3 separate regions of the Homo sapiens genome follow, and regions 1 and 3 are each linked to region 2. The links are contacts of gene promoters, found by promoter capture Hi-C in blood cells and fetal thymus (Javierre and others, 2016). All regions are on one chromosome and are shown on one strand. Each heading gives the region's core, a stretch centred on a gene start or on the middle of the fragment in contact. The rest is flanking DNA. Distances are from core to core; before and after follow the strand shown.

Region 1 (3,548 bases), core at 319-2,818, 240 kb before region 2:
GCCTACAGATCCCGTAGCATAGGTCGTGATGTCCTGGGAGCACGCAGCCGGCTTTGGCGGGGGCTGGGAGTTGGTGAAGAAGGCAACGCGTGGGAGAGGCTTCTCGGAGGCTGTGACACCAGACTCACGATGCTCATTTTAACCCTATTTTTAGAGACAGGGTCTCACTCTATAGTCCAGGCTGGAGTGCAGTGGTGCGATCACAGCTCTTTGAGGCCTCGACCTCCTGGGCTCAAGGGATCCTCCTGCCTGAACCTCCTGAGTAGCTGGGACTATGGGCGGCGGGTGCCACCAAGCCTGGCTAACTTTGTATGTTTTCGTGGAGATAGGGTCTCGCTATGTTGTCCAGGCTTGTCTCAAAACTCCTGGCCTCGAGCCGACCTCCTGCTTCGGCCTCCCAAAGTGCTGGGGTTACAGGTGTGAGCTACTGCACCCGGCGCAAGTCAGGCTTATGATATCTGTCTGCATCCCAAATGGCTCATTTGTTTCCCAAAGGCTTATTTTTGAGGGTCCCTTTGGTGATGTCGTCTTCCTGTCTGCCCCCCGTTCCTATGGGAAAAAGGCAGCTGCCTGCCTCTTACCATGGCGTGTCTGCATTTCCCTTTTGCTGGTGAGAATGAACTCCTTTTCCCATCTCTGGTGGGGTGGTAGGGCTTCTTGTTACTGTCTGGTAGAAGACTGCCTCCCCCCGCAGAAGGCAGGATCCATCTTCCTTGCGGTGAGGTTTCTCTGACCCTCTGTTTCCGCCTCCGTGACATGTTCATCAGGCTGCCCTCTGAGGACAGGGGGGGATGCATGTCCCATGTCCACACCTCCAGATTTACACACACCCAGTTTCCTATGAGATTTGAAGAGGCTGGCGTGATCTAGCCTTTGCCATGTCTTCTCAAGGGGATTTTAGGGTGCACAGGGCAGCGGCCTCCAGAGAGGAGATAGACAGGAACGCTGGCCTCCCAGGATTGAGAGTGGACAGAGGTTCAGGTGAAAAGCCCTCAGCTAGCCCTGGAGCACCTGTGGGGCCATGCTCTGTGCTGGACACGCGCTGCATGGTGACCCTGTGAGCTATTTGCTGCCGGTGGGGAAACGGAGGCTTATCGAGGAACGTGTTTTGCCCATACTACCACCTGGCCAGGGCAGGGCTGGAGCCTCCAGGGCCTCTGGGAGAAGGAGAGGGCATCTGATGAGGGCACCAAGGCAGGCAGGGTTGGGAGGCTTGGCGGAGCTGCGACGGGAACAGGAAGGTGGCTGGTGCTCCTGGGCCCTGGGTCACAGGCTCAGCGGGTCATTGGCGACCTTGAGCAGCACTGCTGAAGGACTCAGGTTTCCTTCTGGGCTCTTATCCCTGGACCTGCTCAGCCATTTTATTTAATGAATTAATTTTTGAGACAGGGTCTCACTTTATCACCCAGGCTGGAGTGCAGTGGTGCGATCACAGCTTACTGCAGCCTCGACCTCCTGGACTCAAGGGATCCACCTGGCTCAGCCTCCTGACTAGCTGAGACCACAGGCATGTGACATCACACCTCGCTAATGTTTAAAATTTTTGCCGAGACGGGGTCTCACTTTGTTGCCCATGCTGGTCTTGAGCTCCTGGACTCAAGCGATCCTCTCTCCTCAGCCTCCTGAAGTGCTGGGATGACAGGCGTGAAGCACCGCGCTGGGCTGCACAGCCATTTCAGAGCCGGCTGGACCTGCCCAGGGTGGCTTGGAGGGATGGTCCAGCAGCCCTTACGGCGGGCACCGTGTAGCCCTGGGACGCAGGGATGTGCATCCCCGGCCTAGAGGGGCACGTTCTATCCCAGCCTTGTGAGTTGGGAATGAGCGTTACTATCCCCCCAGTGGCCGCTCTCTGCTGCCTGGGCCTTGGCTGCAGCCTGGTGGTAGGTGAGGGGCCTCGGTTGTCTATGTGGAGTGGGCAGGGCTAGATCCCACCTTCCTCCCATCTGACCTCAGAACCCAGGCCTCTGCCCACTGCCCCGCACTCCCTGTGGTGTCTCAGGGAGTCTGTGTCCTACTGAGAGGCAGGACACTGTCTTCCAGGAGAGGGAACCCTTCCGGGGAGGATTGCAGGAAAGTCCAGGGCTCTCCAGAGGTGCGGTGGGCCCCAGCTCAGGGCTTCACAGCTCCGGCAGGAACGTGCTCCCAGATGATGCTTCTCCTGAGGGAGGCAGAGGCTGAGGGCACCACGTTGAGGGGATGCTAGTGCTGCGCCACAGGCTGACTCAGGCCCCAGCAGGACAGTCCCAGGCCTGGGGAAGGGGCCATCCTATACTGCAAAGTGAGCGGCAGACGTGTGTGCGGGGCGCACAGCTCCTGCCCTCGGGGATCCCGCAGTCGGGTTCAGGATCTGGCAGCCCGGTGCCAGTGGTTCTGGGTGGGGCTGTTGGCGGCGTCCCAGCTGGGGCTCCAGGCGACTCTCCAGAACTGCATCTGTAGAGGGCAGGAGTCCTGGGGTAGAGGCGCTCAGGGAGCAGCCCCAGGTACATGGGGAGCCCTGAAGCCCACCCACTGTGTACCCAGTATCTACTGAAGCCCACCCACCGTGTACCCAATATCTCCTGAAGCCCAGCCACCATGTACCCAGTATCTCCTGAGCCTTCTAGCAGAGTCGGGTCAGGCAGGGGTCCTCCTCCTTCTGGCTCTTCAGATGTGGCCCCTCACATGGGCTCTGGGGTCCCTACCTCTTGACTTGGCCACTACCACAGCAGTACTGGGCGGACTCTGCCTGTGACCCCCAAACAGCAGTGGGAGTGGCTCTTCCCAGTTTACAGATGAGGAAACTGAGGCCCAGCGCCGGGAGGCTGCTCACCTGTGTACGCGTGGCTGGTAACTGGCAGTGCTGGGTTGGATGTGGGTGGGCCGGGGCCCTGCCTGCCTCCTCTGCCGTTTTTGCTGCCAGCCTCTGTGGGCTGGGCACAGAAGGGAACTTGAAACCTTCCAAGGATGGGCCTGAAGCAGGCCTGGCTCTCCGGTGTCGGTGACAGCCTCCCATACCCCTGCTAGGCAGGTGAGCCCTGGGATCCTACTGATCTGTTAGGGCTTGCCAGCTCTCCTCGGAAACTCTGAGGCCCCGAGTCAGGCGAGAAGGGAGAAGGAGGCCAAGAATGGCGCCTCGCTGCAGAGGATGGCTTGCCTTCATTTCCTCTGGCCTCTCAGGAGGGTCAGGAGCTCCCGCTGGCTGCGTCCTGTGCTGCCTCCTCCTGGTGGATGGGAGACAGCCGGCTTTCCGTGGGGCAGTGAAGGCACCGTCTGACCACCTGTGTCACCTTCAGAGACGTGACAGTGTGTGCTCTCCTCGGTCCGACTTTTCATCCTCAGTGAGCCGCGTCCAGGAAGGAATGGACTCTAGGGGAGAACCCCCGCAGCCAGCAGTATTGTCTTTTGGTTCCCCAGGCCTGACCAGGGCGTATGAGGACCCGGGGGTGATTTTACCAGCGGGTGGCAGGTGGGCAATCGGGCCACCGGGGCCGCCTGCCTGCCTGGCCTGGAGTGGCAGCTATGGAGCTTGCTGGAGGGACGGTTGGTGCTAGGGACACTGGGGGCCAGAT
Region 2 (3,743 bases), core at 600-3,099:
GCAACCTCTGCCTCCCGGGTTTTCAAGCAATTTTCCTGCCTCAGCCTCCCGAGTAGCTGGAATTACAGGCATCCGTCACCATGTCCGGTTAATTTTGTATTTTTAGTAGAGATGGGGTTTCTCCATGTTGGTCACGCTGGTCTCGAACTCCCAGTCTCAGGTGATCTGCCCGCCTCAACCTCCCAAAGTGCTGGGATTATAGGCGTGAGCCACCGTGCCCGGCCACTGGTGAACTCTTACATTGTGGCATCTGGAAACTCTGGGCTGACATTCCAGCAGCCCTTGTGTTCCTGTCCTTTCTCTTAATAGTCTCTGTGTCAGCCCCTGCATCCCACTTTTTTAAGTTTCCACCAATGGGAAGAGTCTTATTCAGGTGCTCTCTGATCCCAAGCTCAAAAACCCCAAGCCAACTGGAAAGTTCTACAAACAATGCCCAGGGCCGGGCCCGGTGGCTTACACCTGTAATCCCAGCATTTTGGGAGGCGGATCACTTGAGGTCAGGAATTCAAGACAAGCCTGGCCAACATGGCCAAACCCCATCTCTACTAAAAATACAAAAACTAGCCAGGTGTGGTGGCTCACGCCTGTAGTCCCAGCTACTTGGGAGGCTGAGGCAGGAGAAGCTTGAACCCGGGAAGCGGAGGTTGCAGTGAGCCGAGATCGTGTCATTGCACTCCAGCCTGGGCCACAGAGCGAGACTCCGTCTCAAAAAAAAAAAGAAAGAAAAACAGTGCCCAGACTGTGGTGTCCAAAACCTATTTCCGGCTCCCACCCTGAGTCCTTAACCAGGGATAGGGATGGGTTAGCACCCGCAGTCCCCAGAGAGCTGCAGGCTTGGGGTGTACTGAGGGGCTGACCCCAGGAGGACAGGCCAGGCTGGGCAGAAGAACCCACGGTGTCCATTCCTTATCACGAGGCCTGCAAGTGACGCTGGCGCCCGAGAGACAAATCACGCCCAGTGCCCCGTCTAGGCTATGGCCTTTCCGTTCATGCTGTAAAGGTGCCTGTGGGTCAGGCAGTCCAGGAGGGCTTCCTGAGGGAGGCAACTCTTGAATATGGGGGAAAAGGCACAAAAGTGCAATGGCGGTGTCTGGGAATATGCCCCTCTTCCTTCTGCCCACACCGGCCCGGTGTGCAGGGGGGAGGCTGGAAGCTGGGAGCTGAGTGAGCATGTACGGTGCTGCGCCGGGTTGTGGGAGAGCAGAGGAAGCAGGGACTGGAGAAAGGCGAGCCCAAGCGAGCCTGGTGCGGTGGAAAGCAGGAGGCAGAAAGACCTGCCTGTCATCAGCTAAGAGCATCCAGAGACGTTCACCGAGCAAGGAGCCAGGCCACCCTCTGCTGCCGGAATGAGGAATAACCCAGGCTCGCAAACGGAATCCTGCAAAGAGATTTCCGACAGGGCCTCCAAGCAACGGGCAACGCTGAGGCTCAGGGAAGCACTGCCGCTCGACCAAAGTCCTACAGCGAATCAGGAACAACGCCTGACGCCTCCAAAAGTGGGCTCCAATCCCAGCTCTTCCCCTCTGTGTGACTCTGAGCAAGACCCTTCCCCGCTGGACCTCAGTTTCCTTCATTGTAAATAACGTTCTGGCACATACTAGGCGCACAAAATCACTGGCAGGTAGCCCCGCGGAGCCCAGAAGCACAATCGGCCGCCAGACCACGTGGCCAGAAAGCACCGCCCTAACGCCGCCCACTCCGGACCACTTCTCCGCGGTCGTCCAACCCTCGCCGGAAGTTACTGTAAGTGGCTTCCGGGTCTGCGCGCACAGTGGCGGATGATGTTTTTTTTTCCTCCCCCCCCCCCCGCCCTCCCCGCGCGCGTGCGCGCCGCGGCCGCGCCTGCGCAGTGTAGCCGGGTCAGCTGGACAGGGTCATCCTGAGGGTGCGACTCCGCCGCGATGGTGACCCGGTTCCTGGGCCCACGCTACCGGGAGCTGGTCAAGAACTGGTGAGGACGCCGACCCGCGGCCCCATCCGCGCTCCCGCCTCGGCCCAGCCCCGCGCCGCTGCGTTCCGTATTTGTGCGCGTTTCCGGGGGCCGGGCCGGGCCGGGCCCAGGTCCCTTGTTGTTCCCGGTGACAGAGGGGGAAACTGAGGCCGAGAGGCGGAGCGGCGCGTCCCGGCGTGAACGGGACGTGACGGACCCAAGGCCAAACCCCAGCATGCCCGGCTCCGCGGCTAGGCCGCTCCAAGCCTCAGTTTCCCCATCTCTACCGGGGGATCCGAATGGTGACCCCCTGGACGGAAGCGCCCAGAAGGTGCCGAGTCCCGATCCCCAGCCCAGCACTCGCGGCATCTTCGGCCTTTGCCACTATTTTGGTTTTTATGATTTTTAACAAGGAGCGTGAAAGCTTCAGCTGCGCCTGAGCCCACGTGGGCAGCGGGACGGCATAGGGGTGGCCCCCATAGAAGCCGGGCTGGGGGTGGCCTCCGTAGGGTTGTCTGGTGTTTCCACGTGGGGTGCTAAGAAGCAAGGCCTGGCTGGGTGCGGTGGCTCCCGCCTGTGATCCCAGCGCTTTGTGAGGCCGAGGCAGGTGGATCACCTGAGGTCAGGAGTTCGAGACCAGCCTGGCCAACGTGGTGAAACCCGCGTCTCTACTAAAAATGCAAAAATTAGCCAGGCGTGGTGGCGGGTGCCTCTAATCCCAGCTACTCGGGAGGCTGAGGAAGGAGAATCGCTTGAACCCGGGAGGAGGAGGTTGCAGTGAGCTGAGATTGCGCCATTGCACTCCAGCCTGGGTGACAGAATGAGACTGTGTCCCAAAAAGAGAAAAGAAAAAAAAAGCAGCAAGGTCTTAGCCGGGTGCAGTGGCTCCGGCCTGTGATCCCAGTGCTTTGGGAGGCCCAGGCAGGAGAATCACTTGAGCCTGGGAGTTCAAGACCATCCTGGACAACACAATGAAACCCCATCTCTACAAAACAAAAAATTATCAGGGCATGGTGGCACCTGTCTGTAGTCCCAGCTACTGGGGAGGCTAAGGTGGGAGGATCGTTTGAGCCTGGGAATTTGAGACCAGCCTGGGCAACACAGCAAGACCTTATCTCTACAAAAAAATTTAGAGCTGCTGGGCGCAGTGACTCACGCCTGTAATCCCAACACTTTGGGAGGCCAAGGCGGGCGAATCACCCGAGGTCAGGAGTTTGAGACCAACCTGACCAACATGGAGAAACCCCGTCTCTACTGAAAATACAAAATTAGCCAAGTATGGTGGCGCGTGCCTGTAATCCCAGCTACTTGGGAGGCTGAGGCAGGAGAATCGCTCAAACCCGGGAGGTGGAGGTTGTGGTGAGCTGAGATTGTGCCATTGCATTCCAGCCTGGGCAACAAGAGCGAAACTCCGTTTCTAAAAAAGAAAAAAGCAAAGGCTTATGATTGGCAGTGTCTCCGGAAGCCAGAACATACTTCCTCTATCCCAGACTGGGGGACAGGTCGGGGACAGGGTCTGCACGGTGGAGCTGACTGGGACCTTCAAGTGGAATGTGATGGTGCCGGTGGCGTTTTACAGCGTGGGTAACTCAGGCCTGGGATGAGGAAGCCTGCTCCTAGCTGAGAACCCAGTGGCCCATGGTAGCCAGTGCAGCCCCTCCCGGGTGCAGCAGGTCTGCTTCTTCTGTGTTCAGTCACAGCGGGGACCACCCGTCATCCGTGCTTTCATCCAACAGCAAGCATTTATTTATTTATTTATTCATTTATTTATTTAGAGACGGAGTCTTGCTCTGTCGCCCCGGCTGGAGTGCAG
Region 3 (3,662 bases), core at 77-2,576, 200 kb before region 2:
CTCGGCTCACTGCAACCTCCACCTCCGGGGTTCAAGCAATTCTCCTGCCTCAGCCTCCCAAGTAGCTGGGATTACAGGCATGCACCACCACGCCTGACTAATTTTTGTATTTTTAGTAGAGACAGTTTCACCATGTTGGCCAGGCTGGTCTCGAACTCCTGATCTCAGGTGATCCACCCACCTCGGCCTCCCAAAGTGCTGGGATTACAGGCGTAAGCCACTGCGCCCAGCCTCTTTTTTCTTTTTTCTGTTTTGTTTTAAGATGGAGTCTCGCTCTGTCGCCCAGGCTGGAATGCAGTGGCGAGATCTCGGCTCACTGCAACCTCTGCCTCCCGGGTTCTAGTGATTCTCCTGCCTGAGACTCCCAAGTAGCTGGGATTACAGGCACCCACAACCACGCCCGGCTAATTTTTTGCATCTTTAGTAGAGATGGGGTTTTGTCATGTTGGCCAGGCTGGTCTGGAACTCCTGACCTCAAGTGATCCACCCACCTTGACCTCCCGAAATGCTGGGATTACAGGGGTGAGCCACCATGTCTGGCCGATATTTTTATTTTCATCTCGAGGACCGAACCGCCCGTCCTAACCAAATCACTGGTTTGGCACAAGAGTTCTGTGTGTCTCATTTGCCCTGTCCCAGTGCACGTGAGGGTCAGTTAATACCCAACCTGAAAGTACAATGTGTCCATCGCGGCCCTACCTGAAATCCTCTTGGGTGTCTTGCTTTGGGAAATGCTGGTCACAGCTCCATGAGTCTTTGCACTCAGTAGAAGCTTGATTAATGCTGGCTCCAGGCTTTTACATTACTGAGCAGGTGCTCAGTAAATGCTGGTCTGAGGCCTTGCATTCAGCAGGTGCTCAGTAAATGCTGGCCTGAGGCCTTGCATTCAGCAGGTGCTCAGTAAATGCTGGTCTGAGGCCTTGCATTCAGCAGGTGCTCAGTAACTGCTGGCTCAGTAGATGCTTAATGAATGGTGTGTGTCCCATAGCCCAGAGGATGCTGGGCGAGGCCAAGTGAGGCAGGTCTGGCCTCGGGCACCCCCATCCCCTGGCCTGGATGGCACCCCTCTGCCAGGCAGCCCGCGGCTCTCGTTCCAGACCAATGTCATCCGCACGGCCAAGTACAACTTCTACTCGTTCCTGCCGCTGAACCTGTACGAGCAGTTCCACCGCGTGTCCAACCTGTTCTTCCTCATCATCATCATCCTGCAGGTGAGGCGTGTTGCCTCCTCCAGGAAGTCCCCCCTAGCCACCTGGCAGCATCGATGTGTTTGTCTGTGTGATGGGTGGGTTCACGTCCCACTCCCCACAGACTGGGACCCTCAGCGCTGAGTCCCTACTACCCTGCCCAGGGCCTGGCACACAAGAGGCGCTCAGTACATGTTGAATGACAAAGGTGGATGGATGCACCCTCCAGGTCTGATGACGGCACCCTCTCCACGCCCCGCTGGTTCCTGCTGGGCAGGGCTGGGCATCGGGAGGCATAGCTGTTCCCCAGCCTAAACGGCCTCGGCCACGCAGCTCCCCTGGCCCCCGCCCTCCCAGCTGACCTCAGAGGCGAGGGGGAAGGAGGAGCCCAGAGCATGTTCTCAGGACCTGTGGAGCCACTTCCCGGTACCTGGGTGGTCCAGGCCAGCGTGGGGCCGGCATCCGGCCAGGGGCGCTGTTTTCAGAGCAAACACTCTCACCCAACATCTCATTTCTGTTCTGGATGGAGAGGTTCTCCTTTCATCCATCGAGTCATTCAGCATTAATGGAGTACCTACTGTGTGCAGGCCGCTGGCCGGGTGCCAGGGTAGGGGATGGTGGAGCTCACACCTGCAGGGTGACCTGGGGAAGCAGGGACATGGGAGGGAGGGGGAGCAGTGGCGGCCAAGCTTGGGGCTGGGGGAGGCTCCCTGGAGAAGGCACCGTGGGAGCTGGGCTTGGACGGGAGAAGGGGAGTTTGCTGGGGAGACGAGGCGTGTGGGAGAAGTTCCAGGCAGGTGGAGGGATGCCGGGGCGTTTGTCCCGAGGGCTGGGGGTTGCAGGAGATGGCTGGACCCCGGTCAAGGTGGCCAGCAGATGTGTCACGTGGTGTCGAGTGCGGGGCTAGGTCGGCTTGGTGGAAGGGCAGGGGACGGGGGAGTGGGCTGGTGTGACCCTTCCTGTGGCCCCCTCACGTCAGAGCATTCCCGACATCTCCACGCTGCCCTGGTTCTCGCTCAGTACCCCTATGGTCTGCCTCCTCTTCATCCGTGCCACCCGGGACCTGGTGGACGACATGGTGAGTGCTGTTGGATGCAGCTGCCTGGGGGAGGGAGCGGGGCCGGTCGGGGGGGTCTCTTGATCCCTGGGCGAGAGTGGGAGGAGGGCTGGGCTTCCTGGAGCATTAGGGGAACGTGGGCCTGGGAGCCTCAGCTGCTGGGGCTACATTGTCCTTATCTGCTAGCACCCACATTGGGCAGGTGCCGCAGGTGGCGTTGGCTCTGTCGGTGCGTGGTTTTGGGGCCATTGAGCTTTGGTGGGGGGTGGTCTGGCAGGCACTCTAGGTGGTGGGCAGCACGCCTGTCTTCTCCCCGCCAATAGCAGTGGGTCCAGTGGCCCCCACGTCCGGGATCCCTGAGCAGACGCAACGTGGCGTGGGGCCAGCGGACAGGGACCCCGTGTTGCGGGCGGGCACTGCTGGGCTGCAGTGCGGCAGCGGCCTGGGCGGGGGCAGGAGAGGCTGGACGGTCTCTCTGATCCTTTCCCTCCTGGCCCAGGGGAGACACAAGAGTGACAGAGCCATCAACAACAGACCCTGCCAGATTCTGATGGGGAAGAGGTGAGGCTGGGGCTGCAGCTGGGGATCCGCGGGGACACGGGGGCTCCAGCCCAGCAGGGTCATCGGCCTCGGCAAGTGTCCATCACCTTCCGTGCTCCCTGATCTCCCGGCTGGTTGAGTCCGACAGGAACCGGGCCTGCATTCATTAGGCGTTTGGCCGGGACGAGGACAGAGGCCGAGGCCCTGATGGCGAACCCTTGCAGAGCTTAGGGCTCGGGCGATGGGGAGGACAAGGAAAGTCTGAAGAGGACGTGGGTGCAGGACCCTGGAGGTCACTGGGTGGGAGCGTGGACCCGCGGGGAGTGGGGTGGGAGCCCGGGGAAGGCTTCCTGAGGGGGCAAAGGCCCGGAGGTGGGGACTGCAGCTGCGGGCCCCCCGTCATCCCGTGCCTCTGGTCTCCCGGTGTGGGGAGGGTTGGCAGAGGGAGGGGCCTCCTTCACAACCCCCTCTCCCCGCAGCTTCAAGCAGAAGAAATGGCAGGATCTGTGCGTGGGGGATGTGGTCTGTCTCCGCAAGGACAACATCGTCCCAGTGAGCTGGGGTTGACCCCGAGGTCCCAGAACCACGCGCCCCCTCACCGAGAGCACCCCTCCCAGGGTGGGGAGGGCTGCCGCACCCCCAATTTGTCTTGCATCCCCTCTTGCAACGCTGCCCCCCACTCCACACCAGGCCGACATGCTCTTGCTGGCCAGCACGGAGCCCAGCAGCCTGTGCTATGTGGAGACGGTGGACATTGACGGGTGAGGAGCTGTGGCATCGCTGGGGACCCTGGGGGGTGGGGAGCATGGCCCGGAGGAGCCCCCTTCCCCAGTCACCAAGGAGGCGGCCAGCCAAGGTCGCTCAGAGACTTTGGTCAC

Evidence for each region. The method cuts DNA at HindIII sites, captures the fragments that hold promoters and counts their contacts. A CHiCAGO score of 5 or more calls a contact.
Region 1: a contact is called between a fragment that was not itself captured here and the fragment with the promoter of UQCR11 in region 2, in 2 of 17 cell types (naive CD4 T cells and total B cells). The highest score is 7.1, in naive CD4 T cells.
Region 3: a fragment that was not itself captured here is called in contact with the fragment with the promoter of UQCR11 in region 2 in 3 of 17 cell types (megakaryocytes, endothelial precursors and erythroblasts); the score reaches 8.2 in megakaryocytes.

The regions. Positions count from the first base shown.
Region 1 is chr19:1,843,498-1,847,045 of GRCh38, reverse strand. All of the region lies in intron 1 of REXO1 (RNA exonuclease 1 homolog), which reads left to right. Among named protein-coding and RNA genes, the nearest start is that of REXO1, 3.2 kb to the left of the region's middle. The HindIII fragment of the contact is 4,342 bases long and covers 1-3,548 here.
Region 2 is chr19:1,603,568-1,607,310 of GRCh38, reverse strand. UQCR11 (ubiquinol-cytochrome c reductase, complex III subunit XI) reads left to right here and starts at 1,849. Exons shown (of 3, transcript NM_006830.4): 1 at 1,849-1,951. The coding sequence starts at 1,902. RefSeq lists enhancers at 272-893, 1,349-1,658 and silencers at 1,719-1,978, 2,029-2,098. The HindIII fragment of the contact is 1,731 bases long and covers 626-2,356 here.
Region 3 is chr19:1,805,771-1,809,432 of GRCh38, reverse strand. ATP8B3 (ATPase phospholipid transporting 8B3) reads left to right here. Exons shown (of 29, transcript NM_138813.4): 5 at 1,098-1,211; 6 at 2,167-2,265; 7 at 2,744-2,805; 8 at 3,264-3,336; 9 at 3,475-3,545. Among named protein-coding and RNA genes, the nearest start is that of ATP8B3, 4.7 kb to the left of the region's middle. The HindIII fragment of the contact is 1,104 bases long and covers 775-1,878 here.